3 separate regions of the Homo sapiens genome follow, and regions 2 and 3 are each linked to region 1. The links are contacts of gene promoters, found by promoter capture Hi-C in human tissues and cell types (Jung and others, 2019). All regions are on one chromosome and are shown on one strand. Each heading gives the region's core, a stretch centred on a gene start or on the middle of the fragment in contact. The rest is flanking DNA. Distances are from core to core; before and after follow the strand shown.

Evidence for each region. The method cuts DNA at HindIII sites, captures the fragments that hold promoters and counts their contacts. A contact is called where the count stands out against the background at its distance.
Region 2: a contact is called between a fragment that was not itself captured here and the fragment with the promoter of LGR5 in region 1, in 1 of the 25 tissues and cell types used here (mesendoderm cells).
Region 3: a fragment that was not itself captured here is called in contact with the fragment with the promoter of LGR5 in region 1 in 4 of the 25 tissues and cell types used here (aorta, hippocampus, small bowel and 1 more).

The regions. Positions count from the first base shown.
Region 1 is chr12:71,438,200-71,441,913 of GRCh38, reverse strand. It overlaps LGR5 (leucine rich repeat containing G protein-coupled receptor 5), which reads right to left and starts at 2,116. Exons shown (of 18, transcript NM_003667.4): 1 at 1,622-2,116. The coding sequence starts at 1,833. It overlaps LOC124902962 (a long non-coding RNA gene), which reads left to right. Exons shown (of 3, transcript XR_007063364.1): 2 at 327-446. The HindIII fragment of the contact is 8,401 bases long and covers 1-3,714 here.
Region 2 is chr12:71,651,031-71,654,744 of GRCh38, reverse strand. The region is part of intron 2 of ZFC3H1 (zinc finger C3H1-type containing); the gene reads left to right. Among named protein-coding and RNA genes, the nearest start is that of ZFC3H1, 11 kb to the left of the region's middle. The HindIII fragment of the contact is 6,167 bases long and covers 1-3,714 here.
Region 3 is chr12:71,630,587-71,634,300 of GRCh38, reverse strand. It overlaps ZFC3H1 (zinc finger C3H1-type containing), which reads left to right. Exons shown (of 35, transcript NM_144982.5): 12 at 1-146; 13 at 863-1,037; 14 at 1,284-1,415; 15 at 1,787-2,329; 16 at 2,414-2,523; 17 at 3,347-3,478; 18 at 3,580-3,701. Among named protein-coding and RNA genes, the nearest start is that of ZFC3H1, 31 kb to the left of the region's middle. The HindIII fragment of the contact is 3,116 bases long and covers 253-3,368 here.

The DNA of each region.
Region 1 (3,714 bases), core at 867-3,366:
GGGGATGAGTATTCTGCTTTGTAGTAGAGATAGCTGTTCAGGAGGAGGAAATGTGAATTCTGAGAGCGTGATCATTTAGGAGAGATTTCCATTCCTGGAACGATATCACTACCACATGCACGAGTGCAATTGAAGGGAAACCTGGTGGGGAAACAGTTTTAACATTCTTTCAGGTAAAAAAGAAAAAGCAGTCAAAATAGCTTTATGGTAGAGGAGGAGGCGACCTGCCATCTACCAATCCTAAAATCTAGCAGAATGGTACCTTTCTTTAAAGACAATATTAAAGCAAGTAAAAGATGTTTTTTTCTTCCTCACTCTGTCTCCAGAAAAAGAATCACTACCTAGTGGAAAATGTTGTGCAAGCCTCTTCATGTTTCTTCCCTCCAGAAAACAACTAAACAGATGGAAGAACTGGTTCACAAACATCCCAACTCTCTCCTGCCAAGGTACATCAGAGAAGCCGAAAACTGGGACTGCATGGGCTTGGGGTGGGCTCGCTGCAATGTCTTGATCTAAAACCTAAATGTTTCACCTTGTGGTAAGGAGCACCTGTTTCCCAGAGTGGCCTAGAACCTGGCCTCTCTGCTGGAAGGAATGAAGCCCCAGATGCTTTGCACGGGGGTGGAGAGAGTAGTCGCCTTGGTCTCCGAGAATAGGGTTCCTCCTGGGTCACCGCGTTCACCCAACTACCTGTTACCTTCGGGCCTGGGTTTTCCACAGAAAAAATTACGCAATGAGCCGCCGCCTCAGGGCTTTGGAAGTTGCAGTGGGGAGAGAAGGGGTGGGAGAATCCCCCAGGGATGATAGAGAGCTTCAGGTCTCCCTTTGGGTGTCGGTGCCGCTGTTTACCAGCCCAACAGCCTTCAGCCCACTTCCCCTTTCCTCCCCGGGGGAAGAGATGGTTAAAGATTACACAGCGGCCGCGGGCACTTCAAAGGGCGGCGCGGGCAGCCAAAGGTAAAGATAACGTTCTGGCAGCTCTAATCGGGGTTTGTGGTTGCCACATTTTAATCACGCCGTTAAAAAAGAAAGAAAATAAAAAGAAAGGAGGGAGGGAAGGAAGGAAGAAGGGAGGAAGGAAGGGAGGAAAAGAGGAAAAAACCCCAAAAAGGTTACATCACGTCACAGTGCAAGGGATGCAGACTAAAAACCCTTTGGAGCTGGGCAAGTTGTTTCTCCTTTGGGGAAACTTTCTACAGACCATCTTTTCGTGGAATGCGACTAGACGCAGAGAGGCGGTTGGGGCGGGGACCAGATGGCAGCCTGCCTTTGGGTACCAGGCTCTGGGTCACAAATGTCCACTCCGCACGCAAATGCCTGCATTTGCAGGAATTCGCCCTGCGATGTTTCTAGCGCTGGACTGGGAAGCTGCGGCGCAGCAGCGCTTTCCCGGGTTGCACTCGAAGCCATTTCTCTGCGGGTCCAGAAAGTGCCGGCACGCTACTCCCCGAGACACGTGCATTTCTCTGGGGGCCCTAACAGGCCTGGCCAGGATGCCCTTGACAAACTCGCCCCCCTCCCCCACGAGCAGGCGGGCGCCGAGGAGCCTCCAGCCTCGCCTTGGACGAACCTTCCTTCCCCTCTTAGTCTCTCTCCCGGAGTGACGTGGGGAAGTACTTACAGGTAGGAGGTGAAGACGCTGAGGTTGGAAGGCAGCTCCGAGAGCCCCAGGTCGGAGCAGTCCACCCTGAGCAACATCCTGCCGTCGGGCTCGCAATGACAGTGTGTGGGGCAGCCCCTCAGCAACACACCAGACCTGGGAGAGCTGCCCCCGGTCGCCAGCTGCAGCAGCACAGGCAAGGACAGGAGCACACCGAGCCGGGAGGTGTCCATGGTGCCCGAAGTAGGGGGCCACGAGCCGGACGCGGGCGGAGAGCAGCACCGGACTGCTACGGGCCGTGGCGCGCCGGGCGCCGCTCCGTGGGCTTCTGCAACTCAGCGGGCGTCTGCAGCGCCAGACGCCGCGTTCCTGACCCCACGGCGTGGGCGGCGAGGAGAAGCGCGGCGGGGACAGAGGTGCCGGTTGCCGCCACGCCGGCCTTCGGAGCAGCCCTGGCTGCAGCGGCGACAGTGGCGGTGCGCCTTGCTGCTGCTCGCGGCCTGAGCGGTGTGGAGCAGCATCTCTGCTTGCACGCTCGTTTTTTAAAGCGCTCCAGCCCGAATTGCGCGCCCAGTGACGTCAGCGCAGCCTGGCTTCCCAGGCACCCCCCGCCCGGCCCCACTTTCCCTCCACTTGTCCCCTCCCTCCTTTCCCAAGTCCTGGGCTGGGAGGCAGCAGGCAGCAGGCAGCGCGCGGTACTGGCGAGTTCTCGGCGCTCCCACTGAGCCTCCGCCTGGAAGATTCAGTGCTCAACGCCGCGCGCCGGAATAGGGGACCCCCCCACCCTTACCCCTTCATGCGTGCTGGAGACCCAGATCTAAGAGTCGAGAGGGACCTGCTTCGGAGAGACCTAAACAGACGCACAAGGACTGGAGGATGCGGCACGTTTCCTCCGAGCCCGCTTCAAATAATGGATGAGATACTTGAAGTGATTAAACAGAATAAAACAAAACAAAAACACAAAAACTAAAATCCTATGCAGAGAAATAGTTACGTTATCAGGGTAAGGAGGCAGGCGTCCCCGGCGAATGATAGGTGGCCTTTTTGATCCTTACGTCTGCCGCACTGTCTGGCTCGCTTTTGCCCTAAAATCAAAGCTCTAGGCTAATCGCTAAACAAATACAGCTCCTGAGCGAGCACTCCACTGCTGCCTTCCTATCTCTTGCGGGGTGAGGAAGTCGAAGTGACTCATTTGTTTTTTAAAAGTGGTTTAGAATACCCTAGAAGTCACTTTTAGTAAATCGATGCCAGAGTGACAGATGGCTGTTTGCTAACTTCCAGGGACTTTTCATCTTAAGTGTCCCAGCGCTCTCTGAACTGAGAGCAGTCCCACCTATGTGAGTGACACTGGGCTCTGAGAACCGCTGCAGAGCGCCAGGGGGAAAATGCATGCTCTTGCTTCAAAAAGTGTCCTATAGTGAATCTGCAGGAAAAAGGAGGAAAAGGATTCAGGGCTTTCTTGGAGAGAAGCCCTCGTTGAGGTACAAATAGCCCTCGCCAGACCTGAGTGAGCTGCTGAAAGAGGTGGTATTCCAAGCCTGCCACACCAACTCACAAAAATGCAGTTTTCACTCTGGGGCACAATGCCTCACAGCATCATGAAGGCAGGATACCCTGTTGATTTTCCAAGTCCTTTTTAATCTTCCTGCATTTAGACTGCCCAACAAAATTTCCCAAATAAACGTCTAAATTTTAGAGTTGGGAAGAGCTGTTTCTCTGTGCAGTGTATGTGCCTTCCTTCATGTCCAAACCTCGCTGTTTGTTCACCTAAAATATATAATTTCTTGACCACAATCTGTAGTCTGAACATCTTCCTTTCTTGGGTGAAAAAACAAACAACAAACAAAGCACTTGACAGTGCTAGTGCCACTGAAAATTGTGAGTTAACTCCGGTTTCCGCACAATCAGTACAGAGAGCCCGCGTCTCTGGACACCCTTTTCCTTCACTTTTCCCTATGTATACCACATTCACTGCTACTCTGTGCTTATTCTCACATTATTCTTGCTTCCCTTAGCCATTCTTTCCACATTTAAAGAATGCCTACCTTGTGTCTTTCTTCCTTTTTTTAAACATTTTAAAAAAAATTTCAATGGCTTTTGGGGGTACAAGTGGG
Region 2 (3,714 bases), core at 683-3,182, 210 kb before region 1:
TCTACTCACATTTTTTATGATTATTGACATTTGGTTTTATTTCTTCTTCTTTTTTTTCTTTTTAGGCTCTTATTTTTCTTCACACAATTTTTTTTCATTTGCTAGTTTGGAAGTTGGATACTAAATTTCTGGTCTTATATTCCTACCAGTGTTTAAAGTTAATCAGGAACCTTACTCTTTCCCCGAAATACAAAGAATGATATTTGCTTAGCTTTGCCTATATATTTAGCACTTTCTTGGCTCACTCTTTGTATCATGTCTGGAATTATATATGTATAAATATATTCTCTGTGTGTGTGTGTTTTAGATAAGATCTCACTGTGTTGCCCAGGCTAGAGTGCAGGAGTATGATCATGACTCAGTGCAGCCTTGACCTCCTGGGCTCAGGTGATCCTCCCACCTCAGCCTTCTGAGTTGCTGGGACCACAGGCATGTACTACCATGCCCGGCTATGTTTTAAAAATTTCTGTAGAGACGGGGTCTCAGTATGTTGTCTAGGCTGGTCTCAAACTCCTGGGCTCAAATGATCCTCTTGCCTTAGCCTCCTAAAATGCTGGGATTACAGGTGTGAGCCACCATGCTCTGTGCTTAAATACATTCTTTAGACTTTTTTTTTAAAAATGTGTTTTTGCTGGGTGGAAAACGATTTCCGTTTACTCTTTTTAAAAGATATTTTCCCTGGGTTTAGAATTCTAGGTTGTTTAATTATATGCTTTTTGTTTGTTTGTTTTTGAGACAAAGTCTTTCCCTGTCATCCAGGCTGGAGTGCAGTGGCACTATCTTGGCTCATTGCAACCTCCGCCTCCTGGGTTCAAGTGATTCTCATGCCTCAGCTTCCTGAGTAGCTGGGACTATGGTACATGCCATTGCGCCCGGCTAATTTTTGTATTTAGTGGAGCTGGGGTTTCGCCATGTTGGCCAGTCTGGTCTCAAACTCCTGGCCTGAAGTGATCCGCCTGCCTTGGCCTCCCAAAGTGCTGGGATTACAGGCATGAGCCACCACACCCAGCCCCTAATTATATTCTTACTGACAATATTTTCTGGCTTCCATTGTTGATTTTCAAAACTCATCTATCAGTCTTAATGGTTTCCAATTTGAAGATAATCTTTTTTCTTTGGTTGTTTTAAAGATCCTTTTTGTCTTTGATATTCTGTAGTTGAACTGTGTGATGTGCTGATTGTAGATTTCTTTTTATGTATCCAGCTTGGAATTTGTTGTTTCTTGAATCTGGATTGGATCTTGCAGTGGTTCTGAAAAAATGATCATTATCTCTTAGAATATTATCCCATTCTCTCTCTTTTTTGGAACTCTGTATAGATGTATGTTATGTTAAGTCATCATACTTTATCTTTCATGTCTCTTCATTTCTCTAAGTTTCTGTCACTTTGTAATTGACAAATTCTGGAAAATTTCCTCTGATACATCTTTCGTTTTACTGATTCTCTCTTCTGCTGTATTCGATTTGCCTTAAGCCCACTTACTGAGTTTTACATTTCAATTACAGTTTTTGTTTTACTATTTCATTTTTGTTTTGTTTTCAAATCACTTTGATCATTCTTTCCACTTTTCTTCTCCCTGCTTATATTTTCAGCTTTATCTTTGTTTCTTTAAACAAATTAACCATAGGTCTGTTTTGTTTTATCTCCTATCCCTGCTAATTTTCAGTATCTCAGGTCTTTGGGGGTTTGATTTCTGATGTTTGTTTTGTTATTACTCATTTTTGGTACTTTCTTTTCTTGAACATTTAGTGATTTTGTTTTGTTGTAATATGAGATGGTCGTTGTTTTTTTTTGAATTTTAGTGGTGGGAAGTTTTTGAGACCTGGGACAAAGATGCATTCCCCAGAGAGAATTTGCTAAAGACTTCAGCCTTGGAATCAGTTCAACCCTCACTGGCTGTCCATATGGTGTGAATTTGGTTGCAGACCTAAGTGATGATTATTTTGGGTTGCACATTCTCAGGGAGATGCCTTTCTTTCCCCTCTTCAATTTAGTACTATGATTCTACACAAGCAGTTTTGAGAAGTATAACACAGAGGGATAGAAAAGACACAAATCTCTATCATGGAGTATAATATGAGTTATGTGTGAAAGCCTGGAGTAACACGGGAAGGATTAAATATCCTCACCTGGATTTAGAAAGGTTTCATAGAGATGTAAATGTTTGATATACATCTGGAAAGATGAATCTTTTCCACTGGGGAAGTCAGAAGGAATCAAATGAGTAGACAGGCACAGAGGGCTTTTTAAGGGCATTGAGATTAATCAAATATGTGTGCAGTGTGAGAGATAACGGTATTTTTTTGGTGAGTGGTTGGACATAAAATTATAAAAGGACAGGTTAGTGTTGGATTGGGAAGGCCTTTAATATTTTGCTAAAGAATTTGAATTTTGTCTTTTAAACGTTGGGTGGGCTATTAAATATTTTTAAGCAAGAAAATGATGTGATCAGATGTGTGTTTTGGAAAAATAACTGGCATCAGTATGGAAGAGTGATTGGAGGAAAATCAAAGGAACTAAAATGTCATCTGAATCAGTAAATTATATATATAAATGTTTCTACATGTATATTTCCCCACCAATCCTCAGCAAGACTCTACTGTCAAACTTATGTTATTGGTGAGCCTTTTTTCCATATCTCTTGACAACTCTTCTATACCTTCATAATTTTTGCAGGCCTTTTACTCAACCTTTATTATTGTCCGTATACAAGCTTGCTTCTTATTGGAGGTGATCACACTCAATTCCAGCTTTTCACTTTCTGACCATAAACTTGTTTGTAATCCATATCAGTTTTCACTTCAGTTCTTTCACCCTGAGGGTAACGACTGTCTTGTTCATGGCCATTTTGTTTTAACTTGTTCTCCTGGCTCTAACTTCTGCCTTCTCTGGGACCTTGCTTTATTTATTCTGCTTTATCTTGAACCATTGTCTCCTTAGGGTGTTCTTAATATATTTGACTTTTCCATCCAAAAATGGAAATCCTCTTCCACCTCATCCTACATTCTCTCTTAAATTATGTCAAGTATTCTTCCTCTTTTCAATAAGACTTCTGAGAGGTCTAGTCGGTACCAGCTTTTGACTTTACTTCTCATTGCCTTATTAGCCCAATACAGTTTGCTTTTCTACCCCCATCACAATACTGAAACTACTCATGGTAGTTTTCTGTGACCTAATTGCAAATTTTAGTGGATGTTTTTTATTTCATTCTTCCATTTATTCAAAAATTAGTTGAGCACTTTATTCCAGGCTCTTGGAAATAAATTGGTGAACAAAATAGTCACTTATGTTTTCATGGGCTTACATTTTAGAAGGCAAAACAGTAAACATGATGTGTAAATTAACTGTTATGAAAGAGAAAAAGTATAGCAGGGTAGGTAGGAAAGGGTTATTGAGGATACAGGTTGCAGCACTAATAGGGTGGTCAGCATGGTGTCTATTTGAAGGTGAGATTTAAAGAAAGACTTTGAAGACAGTAAAGGAATAGCCAAATGGATATCTGGTGGAAGAGGCTCCTATGCAAAAGGAATAACTAGAGCAGTGATTTTCAAAGTGTGGTTCCTGGGGACTGCGTTATCTGGGAACTTGACAGAACACAAATTCTCAGTCTCTACCTTAGATCTATTGAACTGGGAGCTCTGCAAATGGGGCCTAGCAATCTGTATTTAACCAGCCCTTCTGTTGATTCTGCTACATGCTGAAGTTTGGGCATCG
Region 3 (3,714 bases), core at 561-3,060, 190 kb before region 1:
GAGAAACAGCGTTTGATTAAATCAGATCAGCTGAAGACAAGTTCATCATCCCCAGCAAACTCTGATGTGGAAATTGATGGTATTGGCAGGATAGCAATGGTTACTAAGCAGGTTACAGATGCAGAATCAAAACTGAAAAAACATAGGTGAGCCTTGTTATCTTCACATATCTAATTGTTCCTGTGGTAGAGAAATACATTTTTGTGGTGTATGTTATTAATAAGCGTACTATAAGATTATACATTTTCTCACTTAAACTTTGTAGAATGTAGAAGTCTGTCATTTTGTTGAATGACACTACATTTACATAAAGTAATGAAATTAATGTTTAAATAAAAATACCGGCCAGGCGCGGTGGCTCACGCCTATAATCATAGCAATTTGAGAGGCCGAGGTGGGTGGATCACTTGAGATCAGGAGTTTGAGACTAGCCTGGCCAACACGGTGAAACCCTGTCTCTACTAAAAATACAAAAAAATTAGCTGGGCATGGTGGTGCATGCCTTGTAATCCCAGCTACTTGGGAGGCTGAGGCGGGAGAATCGCTTGAACTAGGGAAATGCATTCCCACTGTGCCTGGCCCAACGTTGAATATTTACTACAAGTTTTCAACAGTAATTCACGTTACCTCAGGCTTAAATTTTTTTTTTTAAAAGATCAGTCTCATAGTTACTATTATCAGTGTAGCAATGTTAATTTAAATACCTGTGTGATGAATATAAAAATATTCATCCCTTTACATTTTTATCTGTGTCTCGTAGATGCATTTTTAAAAATTGTGTTATTACTTTGAAAATTTTTTTATTCTGACAGTCTGCTCTTGTAGGGAAACATTAACAAGAATTTTGTTATTTCTCATTTAGGATTCTCTTGATGAAAGATGAATCTGTTTTAAAGAATTTAGTGCAACAAGAAGCTAAGAAGAAAGAATCTGTTAGAAATGCTGAAGCAAAGATTACAAAACTTACAGAACAGCTTCAAGCAACTGAAAAAATTCTTAATGTTAACAGAATGTTTTTGAAGAAGCTTCAGGAACAAGTAATTATTTTAAAATACTGTAGTCTCCTGTTTACTACACATTTTTATAGGCCAAATTTTCTGTAAGACAAACCACTGTATACTAAAGCCAGCAAAATATGCATAACCTATAGTTTCTTGTTGAGAAATAATATTGGAATATTTTTATTTTCAGTTGAATGCTCAAAAGCCACGGTGTTTGAGAAGAAGAAATTTCCTGTTTTAAGGTTTTCATTTACATTTTCAGGATTATTCTATATTTTTCAGATTCACAGAGTTCAACAGCGTGTTACAATTAAGAAAGCTTTGACTCTAAAATATGGAGAAGAGCTTGCTCGGGCAAAGGCAGTGGCCAGTAAAGAAATAGGAAAACGTAAACTGGAACAAGATCGCTTTGGGGTGAGGGTTTTATAGAAATATTTTACTTTTGGAAAGCAGAAAGTTTTTATGATAGTTTTAAGGGTAAGATGTATATATAAAGTAACTCTTTGCTGTAAATTCCAAGAGATTAAGATTAAAGCTTTGTTTTTAAATGACATCCACATTTTTGGATGTCTACTTTATTATTTTGTCTTGACTTTGTTTTTGTCATAAGTCATAGATTAACTAGCAAAACTTTTGGCTACTTATGTTAAACTCTGTTTTATTCTCCATATTGATTTAGTTTTATAATGTTGGCATTGTATGGTGGGGATAGCACAATTATCTTACCAAAAATTGTTTATAAAATCACAGTGATGTAAAATACGTGTATCATTTTTCTCCCTTAGCCAAACAAAATGATGAGACTGGACAGTTCTCCAGTATCAAGTCCAAGAAAGCATTCAGCAGAACTAATTGCTATGGAGAAAAGACGGTTACAAAAGCTAGAATATGAATATGCCCTGAAAATTCAAAAATTAAAAGAAGCCCGTGCCCTTAAAGCAAAGGAACAACAAAATATCTCTCCAGTTGTGGAAGAGGAACCCGAATTTTCTTTACCTCAACCCTCACTTCATGATCTGACACAAGATAAATTAACCCTGGACACTGAAGAAAATGATGTTGATGATGAAATTTTGTCTGGTTCAAGCAGAGAGCGAAGAAGATCTTTTTTAGAATCCAATTATTTTACTAAACCTAACCTTAAGCACACTGATACTGCTAACAAAGAATGCATAAACAAACTTAATAAAAATACTGTAGAAAAACCAGAACTTTTTCTAGGGTTAAAAATTGGTGAATTGCAAAAATTGTATTCAAAAGCTGACAGCCTAAAACAGCTGATTTTAAAAACCACCACAGGCATTACAGAGAAGGTTTTGCATGGTCAGGTAACTGAACATTTCATATTTTCTTTAAAATCTGGAATTCACCCAGCCTTATTTGCCTTACAGAATTATTATTTTCTTTTGCAGGAGATTTCTGTAGATGTGGATTTTGTCACAGCACAAAGTAAAACAATGGAAGTGAAGCCATGTCCTTTTAGACCCTACCATAGTCCTCTTCTAGTTTTTAAGTCCTACAGGTATAAAAGAAAGATTCAATAAGCTTGAATTTCAGGATTTCTGTTTGGTTTTTAATATTTTATCTTGAATATTTGATGATAATGAAAAAGCAATTGAATCATTGCTATTGATAACCAGACTTACCCTTTTAAGGAACATAAAAATTAAGTGTCCTGCCGTTGGGCTCAAACCACACTCTTGGATTTATCAGTTCGTATCAAATTCCAGTTTCTGGCTATTGGTAGAAGTGTGGAGAATTTTGGATTTCTGTTTGTTAGGAATTTTAGGAAAAATAATTGGAATCTTAGAGGTTTTTTTTAATTTTTGATTTTTAATTTTACTGTTATTCAGTCTAAGAAGTGCATTGGCCAGCCTTCATAAAATTTATTTAGACATTTTCATATGATTAACTTTGTGGGTCCCCCATTTAGACTTTTAAAAGTTGTGAGAATGTTAAAGGGTTGCATGTTTTTATCTTAAAATTGTAAAGCACCTTCCAGGTAATATAGACTTTTTCCAGATTTTCTTGTCTTGGCTGGTAATGTGTGTAAGAAATACCGGTATTATATAGTATTTTATTATGTGGTGAGAAACTACTTTTAGAATACAAGGTTTTTTTTCTGTTTAAACTATTTTATGTTCTTGGTATAAAAGCAACTTGTTTCTATCCCTTGATATTCTAGGTCTTTTCTCGAATTAATTTTGGCATTAATTTAATTAGATAAATAGCTCATAAATAGTAAGCATGGAAATTTTAACTTGAGAAAGAAAAACTAAAGTTTTCTTAGTTTTCTGAGGAATGTTTGTTGGGCATAATATACCTGTTCACTCTCTTCACCTTAGATTTAGTCCATATTATCGAACCAAGGAAAAACTTCCCCTGAGCTCAGTATCATACAGTAATATGATTGAACCGGATCAGTGTTTCTGCCGTTTTGATTTAACAGGAACATGTAATGATGATGATTGTCAATGGTGAGTAGTTTTTGTGAACATTTTGTAATTTGAAAAATGGTCTTGTTTGCTTAACTTTGATATGTACATGATTATCTTTTCTGTGTTTTTTTTTATCTTAGGCAGCATATACAAGACTATACACTTAGCCGAAAACAGTTATTCCAGGACATTCTGTCATATAATCTGTCTTTGATTGGTTGTGCAGAGACAAGTACTAATGAAGAAATTACTGCTTCAGCAGGTTTTTAAAGACT